Regions from separate parts of the Homo sapiens genome. Here all the other regions are linked to region 1. The links are contacts of gene promoters, found by promoter capture Hi-C in blood cells and fetal thymus (Javierre and others, 2016). All regions are on one chromosome and are shown on one strand. Each heading gives the region's core, a stretch centred on a gene start or on the middle of the fragment in contact. The rest is flanking DNA. Distances are from core to core; before and after follow the strand shown. Region 1 holds the start of SMARCC2 (SWI/SNF related BAF chromatin remodeling complex subunit C2). Region 2 has its middle 6.3 kb from the start of MIP. Region 3 holds the start of GLS2 (glutaminase 2).

What was found. The method cuts DNA at HindIII sites, captures the fragments that hold promoters and counts their contacts. A CHiCAGO score of 5 or more calls a contact.
Region 2: a fragment that was not itself captured here is called in contact with the fragment with the promoter of SMARCC2 in region 1 in 17 of 17 cell types (naive CD8 T cells, total CD8 T cells, naive CD4 T cells and 14 more); the score reaches 14.3 in naive CD8 T cells.
Region 3: the fragment with the promoter of GLS2 here is called in contact with the fragment with the promoter of SMARCC2 in region 1 in 9 of 17 cell types (naive CD4 T cells, naive CD8 T cells, naive B cells and 6 more); the score reaches 7.9 in naive CD4 T cells.

The regions. Positions count from the first base shown.
Region 1 is chr12:56,188,187-56,190,886 of GRCh38, forward strand. It overlaps SMARCC2 (SWI/SNF related BAF chromatin remodeling complex subunit C2), which reads right to left and starts at 1,297. Exons shown (of 29, transcript NM_001330288.2): 1 at 1,165-1,297. The coding sequence starts at 1,275. TRS-CGA4-1 (tRNA-Ser (anticodon CGA) 4-1) reads left to right here and starts at 2,178; the gene lies at 2,178-2,259. LOC107984468 (a long non-coding RNA gene) reads left to right here and starts at 2,506. Exons shown (of 2, transcript XR_007063330.1): 1 at 2,506-2,700. RefSeq lists silencers at 1,034-1,253, 1,324-1,603 and an enhancer at 1,844-1,943. The HindIII fragment of the contact is 5,408 bases long and covers 1-2,700 here.
Region 2 is chr12:56,459,582-56,462,281 of GRCh38, forward strand. No RefSeq gene overlaps it. Among named protein-coding and RNA genes, the nearest start is that of MIP, 6.3 kb to the left of the region's middle. The HindIII fragment of the contact is 1,981 bases long and covers 400-2,380 here.
Region 3 is chr12:56,486,911-56,489,610 of GRCh38, forward strand. GLS2 (glutaminase 2) reads right to left here and starts at 1,251. Exons shown (of 18, transcript NM_013267.4): 1 at 1,027-1,251. The coding sequence starts at 1,208. LOC124902944 (a long non-coding RNA gene) reads left to right here. Exons shown (of 2, transcript XR_007063331.1): 1 at 1-42; 2 at 77-422. RefSeq lists an enhancer at 788-1,007 and a silencer at 1,168-1,597. The HindIII fragment of the contact is 16,217 bases long and covers 1-2,700 here.

The sequences.
Region 1 (2,700 bases), core at 47-2,546:
CCGGAGGCTAAGCCCCTAGCCTGATCTCCCTGCAAAAGGTCAAAGGTAGAAGCCTGGGAATAAGAGCCTCTCACAGGCGTAGAGACATGCCATAGAAATAGCAGCTATTTGTCAGGATTCTCACACCCAGAGAGACCCCAAGGGCAGGGCCAGGCTCACAACCAGCATCAGTAGGAAGTTCTCCTAAGCCACTAAGCACACTTCTGACGAGCTGCAAAGCCGGCAGGAAGAACTGGGGAGCTGAAAGAAAGCCATAAAGAGAATCCCTCTCTGAGGGTAGTGAGAAAAAGAGAGGCAGACCATTTCCAGAGAAAACCAGGCCTAGAGACAAAGACGACACCAGGAAGAGGTTTGGTAGAAAAGACAGGTAAGGATTCTTGAACCTTTTGTTCACCACCTTATGATCTCCAGTTATGGGGTTTGGGTGTGAGGGGCTAGAGATAGGAAGCTCACCCTAACCTCTCGACCCCAAACCCAGGGTACTGCAAAGCTAGGTTGCAAGGTGACTTCATTGTAAAATCGAGGAAAGGTTTCGGAAGGGGCCGCTACCCAGGAACTCCTATACCCCGGCTCCCTGAGAGATTCTGTTGCCCCTTAGATGAAGGTGGGGGATGAGCGGCGGAGACAGGTGATCCCTGGGTGGAGACCTTTTTCAGGCTGATGAGCAGCCAACGGCTTGCTCTGTGACTGTTTACCCTCCTGCTTTCCATTCTCTCTCTCTGAACATACACAAAGCACCGGAGAGGCCTCAGCCCCGCTGGTACCTGGCTCCGTGGGGAGCTCTGGCGGGCACGCTCCGGGTTGCGGGGGAGCCCATTGGGCACCCGGTCCACACCCGGCCGGCCGCCTCTCCCAGAAAAGCCAGGAGGGCGATGGCTGAGGGGAAGGTGGGCTAATGGCACCGGGGCCCGCCGGGCAGTAGAGAAAAACAAGGGGCAGAGGGCGCAGCAGTGGGGGCGGGGGCTGGGCTCAGAGGCTGGGGGTGCGGGGAGAGGGAGGCTGGGGGAGGGGCGCGGGAGCGCAGGAGGGCGCGCGGGGGGCTGCTTGGGAGGCCGCGGGGGAGGGGCTGGGGCGCCTGGAGGGTAGGCAGGATCCCGGGGCTGCAGGGCCGCGGTCCCTTTGTCCCGCCCCCGGTCCCCGCGCGGCCCGGCCCGGCCCGCGTACCTTCTTGTAGTTCTTGCCGAGCCACAGCCGCACGTTGTCGAACTGGGTCACGGTGTCCGCGGCCTCGTAGTACTTCACGTTGGGGCCGCCGTCCTTCTTCCGCACCGCCATCTTCTCCGGCTCGGGCCCCGCCGCCGCCCGCCCCACTCAGCTCAGCTCCCGCCTCCTCCGCCTCCTCCTCCGCCCGCCTCCCGCCGCCTCCCGCCGCCGCGGCCGCCGCCTCCCGCCGCCTGGGCCGGCCCCGGTCCGCGCTGCGCCCCCTGCCGGCAGGCCGGGCGCGGCGGCGGAGCTCCAGGCGCGGGCCGACCCTGGCGGCCTCCCCGGCAGCGGAGGCGGGAGCCTCCGGGGAGAAGGACGCTTCCTGGAGGGGGCGCCATTCTCCTGAGATCGCTCTTACCAGACGCGAAGCCCTTTCCCTCTTTTTGCCTCAGCTCGGGAGTGTCACCTCGCTATCCCACTCCAGGCGGCCGCCAGTCGCTGGAGCAGCCCCAACCCGTAGACCCGAGTGGTCCTCACCTTGCGCATTCCTAACCCGACGAAGCCCCTCGTCCCCCAAAACCCCAAACCCCTTTCCCCAAGAAGTTCCTTCCTTCCATCCATTCACAGCAGCTCCCCATTTAAACTTTTCAGAGTCTCCCTCACTCCTCGCGCCTTGTCCACCCAGCACTCCCCTCACTTGTTAACCCAAATGTCCCCTAGTCGCCACCCTGGCGGCCCAGTGCCTTCCCTCAACTGCTTCCTCCGCAGGCCTCGCTGTCGCCTCCTAAGTAGGTGTGAGCTCCTACTCGAGACCCCGACTCTTCGCTAGGCAGGAGACCCTCCCTCCCTGGGTCACCCAGTCCATCCGACTCTTTTTCTTTGGGTGGCGTAGATAGGAGGTAAGGAACCGAGGGGTGGGGAGTCCTCAGGTGTGTGTGTGTCGGGGCCGGTACCCTGCTTCCGGTTCCCGCACGCATTCCCGGATTGCAGTGCGGACCCCTTCTGTAAGCGCGCGATAAAGCGCGGTTTTGGAAGTCACGGTGGCCGAGTGGTTAAGGCGTTGGACTCGAAATCCAATGGGGTTTCCCCGCACAGGTTCGAATCCTGTTCGTGACGGGTTTTTTTTTTTTTTCTTTCTTCTTCTTATTATTAAAAGGGAGTCTCGCTCTGTTGCTCAGGCTGGAGTGCAGTGGCGCGATCTCGGCTCACCGCAACCTCCGCTTCCCGGGTTCAAGCAATTCTCCTGCCTTAGCTTCCCGAGTAGCTGGGACCACAGGCATGCGTCACCATACCTGGCTAATTTTTGTATTTTTAGTAGAGACAGGTTCACCATATTGGCCAGGCTGGTCTCAAACTCCTGACCTCAGGTTATCTGCCCGCCTCGGCCTCCCAAAATGCTGGGATTACAGGCGTCGACTTTTTTAACCCCTTTCACAGCACATAAAGGTAACCCCAGTTCTCACACGTTTCTTTCGTGCACTTTCTCTCTCCAAAAGGGAAGCCGCCAAAAGGTCTTAACCCCTGGATTTGGGAGGATGGGAGTGATCTTGGGAAGTT
Region 2 (2,700 bases), core at 140-2,639, 270 kb after region 1:
GTAGCTGAGACTACAGGCACGTGCCACTGCACCCAGCTTATTTAAAAATTTTTTGTAGAGATGAGGTGTTACTGCGTTGCCCAGGCTGGTCTCAAACTCCTGGCTTCAAGCCAACCTACCGATTCTACCACCTCAGCCTCCCAAAGTGCTGGGATTACAAGCATAACCATAGAACCTGGCCTTTTTTTTTTTTTTTTTTTTTTTTTTTTTTGAGACGGGGTCTTGCTCTGTCTCAAAAAAGGTGAGACTCCAGGCTGGGGTGTAGTGACGCAATCTCCCAGGCTCAAACAATCCTCCCACCACCTCAGCCTCCCAAATAGCTGGGACTACAGGCATGCACCATCACACCTAGCTAATGTTTGTATTTTTTGTAGAGATGGGGTTTTGCCGTGTGACCCAAGCTTATCTTGAACTCTTGGGCTCAAGCAATCTGCCTGCCTTGGCCTCCCAAAGTGCTGGGATTACAGGCGTGAGGCACCTCACCCAGCCTTAGCCTAGCCTTTTTAACAAAAAAACAACAAAAAACAAATACAATCCAGGCGCAGTGGCTCACGCCTGTAATACCAGCCCTTGGGAGGCCGAGGCGAGCGGATCACGAGGTCAGGAGATCGAGACCATCCTGGCTAACACGGTGAAACCCCGTCTCTACTAAAAATACAAAAAATTAGCCGGGCGTGGTGGCAGGCGCCTGTAGTCCCAGCTCCTCGGTAGGCTGAGGCAGGAGAATGGCGTGAACCAGGGAGGCGGAGCTTGCAGTGAGCCGAGATTGCACCACTGCACTCTAGCTTGGGCGACAGAGCAAGACTTCATCTCAAAACAAAAAACAAAAAACAAAAAAAGGCTGTGTCTCCCTTCAGAAGTGGGATGCACCTGTGGTCCCAGTTACTTGGAAGGCTGAGGCGGTGAGCTGTGATGGTGCCACTGCACTCCAGCCTGGGCAACAGAGTGAAACCCTGTCTCAAAACAACACCATAAAATAACCAGGCCTTAGCGTGGTTCACTGAGCCTGTGGAGGTTGAGGCTGCAGTGGGCCATGATTGCACTACTGCACTCCAGCCTGGACCACAGAGTGAGACTCTGTCTTAAAAAACAAAACAAAATAAAAACAAAAACAAAAGAAAAGAAATCTGCCAAGGAAGGTGACTTTGGAGAATTGCCTAGGAATAAGGGGATTTCTGGGGTCTAACCCTCCCGGGTGATGCCAGGACACACTCCAGTTCATCTTCCTCTTTTTTTCTTGTTCACTTGTTCCCCCCTTTGCTATTATTCTACTTCATTCTTGTATTTGGGGTTCTTTTCAGGGGTTGCAAAATGTTTTTAGCTATAGATTCTCCACCTTTCTTTTCTTCTGGCATTAAGTAAGTATACAAATGTTTTTGAAGTTTTTTCCAACAGGGACTATGAAAATGGAGAAAGGATTTGTAAAATAACAAATTTGAGTAATTACAAAGTTATTATAAATCTTAATGGCTCCTAGCAGTAATCACCCTGAATTCTCATTTGTCTCTATACTTAACTGAGTTAGCTCTTGATTACTAATGATCAGTCTTTCAAACTTTAGGACAGTGACAGTGATCCTAGCTTACTCCCCACTTCAATAAGGAAGGCTCCATTGCTTAGTCCCAGAGAGTGCTATACAACCATAATCCATAGTAATAGAGAGCAAGTGGGTCTATATAGCTTAGGAAATCTGCAGGCAGAGCTATTTTTCTTGCTGTGTTCCTCCACAGTGGGTCCCATGTGATTACCATAGTCACCTCTAAGGATGTCCAGGACTGACTCACCATCTTACTGCAGCTACTCCCTAGCCAGCTCATATTATCAGGACCTGAAGAATATATCAGGTTTGAGTTCCATAAACGATCTACGCTGGACAGGTGTGGTGGCTCGTGCCTGTAACCTCAACACTTTGGGAGGCCAAGGCAGGAGGACTACCTTGTCAGGAGTTCAAGTCCAGCTTGGGCAACATAACAAGACCCTGTCTCTATAAGAAATTTTTAAAAATTAGAGGGTGTGGTGGCACGTGCCTATAGTCTTAGCTACTCAGGAGGCTGAGGTGGAAGGTTCACTTGAGTCCAGGAATTCAAGGCTACAGTGAGCTATGATTATGTCACTGCATTCCAGCCTGGGTGACGGAGCGAGACTGTGTCTCTTTAAAAGAAAACAAAATAGTATTTTACTGCCTATCCGGCCAGATTGTAAAAATATAAATAAATGTAAATATATATAAATAAATTATATATATAAATTATATATAAAATAAATAAATAAAATGTAAAAGGAAAAATAGCCAGTCATGGTGACTCATGCCTGTAATCCCAGCACTTTGGGAGGCCAAGGCAGGAGGATCACCAGAGGCCAGGAGTTCAAGGCTGCAGTAAGCTTATGGCACCACTGCACTTTAGCCTTGGCAACAGAGGGAGACTCTGTTCAAAACAATAAATAAAGGCCAGGCGCAGGGGTTCACACCTGTAATCCTAGCACTCTGGAGGCCGAGGCAGGCGGATTACTTGAGGCCAGGAGTTCATGACCAGTCTGGCCAACATGGTGAAACCCGTCTCTACTAAAAATATAAAAATTAGCTGGGCATGGTGGTGTATGCCTGTAGTCCCAGCTACTTGGGAGGCTGAGGCAGGAGAATGGCTTGAACCCGGGAGGTGGAGGCTGCAGTGAGCTGAGATCATGCCATTGCACTCCAGC
Region 3 (2,700 bases), core at 1-2,500, 300 kb after region 1:
CCTATTGGTGTCCCTTACGACAGAGACTCGAGTAGTGGTGAGGTAGTGTTGTGTCAGAGACTCGAGTAGTGGTGAGGTAGTGTTGTGTCAGTCTGGCTACTTTACTGATGGTGTCCATGTTTCTGAGTGTCATCAGGGAGATGGCAGCGACGAGGGAGATGGCCCATTTCCTGTTCCTGCTACAGTAGAGCAGGGGCTCTTTGGACAGTGTCTATGCTGGCCCTCTGGGGAGGACAAGATTTCCTGCTCAGCACCGTCTGGGTCTCAGAGAAAAAGGCTCAGCCACCAAGTGTGTCCTAGGCGGTGGGGAAGATAAAGGTTTGGCATCCTGGGTGGAAGAAACACCCAAAGGAAGAGAACGTTTTAGATTCTGGAGCCTGGGCAGCACAAATAAAGGCTCTGACTGGCTCTGGTTTGGGAAATCTGCGTCTTAAAGACCTTTCCTCCATTACAAATATTCTCCCCATTCAACAACCAGTTTGGAAATTCCCCCCCATTCTGCTGTTCAGGGAGCACTGCTACGCACACACCCAACACTTATGGACGTACCTGCGCACCAATAATACACGCGCATCACACATTACCTGCCGAGAACACGCAGAAACACAACACACAGACCCCAGTACACCTGGACCGGAGGCAGGAGGCTGTTCCACATCCACGCATCTCCTAAAATACACACGAGGACTAGGGAAGGTGAGGACTGGCGGCGTGAGCCCGGCCCTGCACTCAGACACGTGAGCCAAGCAACACTCGGCGCGCATCTGTGATCCGGGTTAAGTGCGCACCTTGGACAGGCGCCATCCCCAGGACCCGCTTGCCCGAACGCACTCCTAGGCAGACGGCAGATTACCGCCCGAGCGCGGCGCACCCAAAGCCCCACATCCAAAGGAAAAGGCACCGAGGGCTAGTGAGCGAGGAGAGGGGAGATGAGCGGCGCTGCCTTGGAAGGGCACTCGGGAACTAGCGAGAACCACAGTGGGAGTGGGGGCAAGCCCGTCCCCTGCCCTGTCCCAGGAGCCTTACTGATCCTGGTGCTGCGGCTGGTGGCTGTGTGGCGTCTCTCTGCCCTGCGCCGCGGCCTCACTGAGGTGGTGCCGGACGCCCCCGCCAAGGAGGGGGCTCCGGCTCGGGTGACCCCAGCCTCCTCGCCCGCAGTGACTGCCAGCCCGGCTCAGGGCCTTCTGCAGAGCCTTCATGGAGCGCATGCCCCAGCAAGCCTCCGGCTCTGCAGGTGCGCCCGGGACCTCTAGCTGTGGCTGGGAAGGAGGGGCGGAGCGAGCGAGACAAGGTGCGGGGGAGTTCTGTGAGGGAGCGCTGGACCTGGAAGACGGAGAATGTGGGCCCGGTGGGTGGGGCTGGGGCTGGGGCAGGAGAAGGGGCCTGCCCCTTTAAAGCTGGCTCCAGGGTTAGGGGCACCCTCAGGACAGGGGCTAGGTGAGGAGCGTTGGGGATGAAGGAGAACCCGGGTGGCTTTCTAGTGGGTGGAGAGAGGGCGGTGCCTGGGAGCTGGAATGGACAATGCCCAGGTCCAATCACTGAGGAAGCAAAAACATTGAGGCGGGGAAAGGGTAAGGTTGCCCAATGAGAGCAAGACGGTGGGACCTTGCGACAGTCTGCGGATGCTTCCGCGTGGGCCCGGCGAGCGCGGGTATCCGCGGATGCTGAGGGCGGGAAAGGCGAGGACAAGCTGAGGCGAAGCCGGTGGGGGCGGGAGGCGCTCCCCGGGAACACCGTGGGGCTGCGAATGATGGAGTTGTCGTGTAGAGAGGAGGGTGCTGCCTCGAGAGAGGAGGCTAAGTAAGAGTGAGCCCAGTTCAGGAGGTCACTCAGAGAGCCTCGACCTCCGAAGGCCAAACCAGCGCCCAGTAACCCGGCGGGTAGCGTGGCGCGCGGCCGACGTGCGGTGGTGCTGAGTGGAGAGTAGGATGACTGCTGGGTACCCCGGGCAGAAGCAGCCGACCAGCACCTCAGGGAGGCATTGGGCGGCGGGAAGGTCGCTCTGGCGGTTAGGAAGCCTGGGTTCCAGTTTGTGTCCCTCTACCATTTATTTGGTGTAGGACTTGTTTTCAAATCTGGAAAGTTAAGACATTAAAATAAGTTGGCACGCAGAAAAACGTTTTATAAACCATGAAGTGCTCCCCACATTTTTCCTATTTTAATTGTTTGCCCTTGTCCTCCTCACGGGCAGAAAAGAGGCGATATACAAAAAGCATTTTGAAATCCAAGAACATTCAGGACTTTTGCCATTTGCAGCTAGAACTTTCACCTTGTATCTCGGCAGCGCCTAACCCAGCATCCATATTTAGTAGGGACTCATTATGTAAATGATAGCTATTATTGAGTGCCCATGGTGTTCCAACCGCTTAGTTTCTCTCTCCCTCTTACCAGAGACCTACAAAGTAGTTATTAGTCTCAATTTGAAGGTGAGGAAACTAAGACTAGGAAATTAAGAATTCTCGCATAAGGTAACCCAGCTAGTAAGTACCAGAACCAGAAATTAGACCCGTTTTTTTTTTTTAACTACAAGTCTCTCCTTCATGCAGCCCTTCTCAAAAATTAAGCATTGAATTGAATTATCCCGGGAGAAATGACCCCATCCCTAAAGGAGGTATTTTATGTGGAAGTATTATGATACAGTACTGGGAGTCTTTTCCTTGTGATAGTTCTGGCTGTATCACAAAATACTAGTTTTTGTTT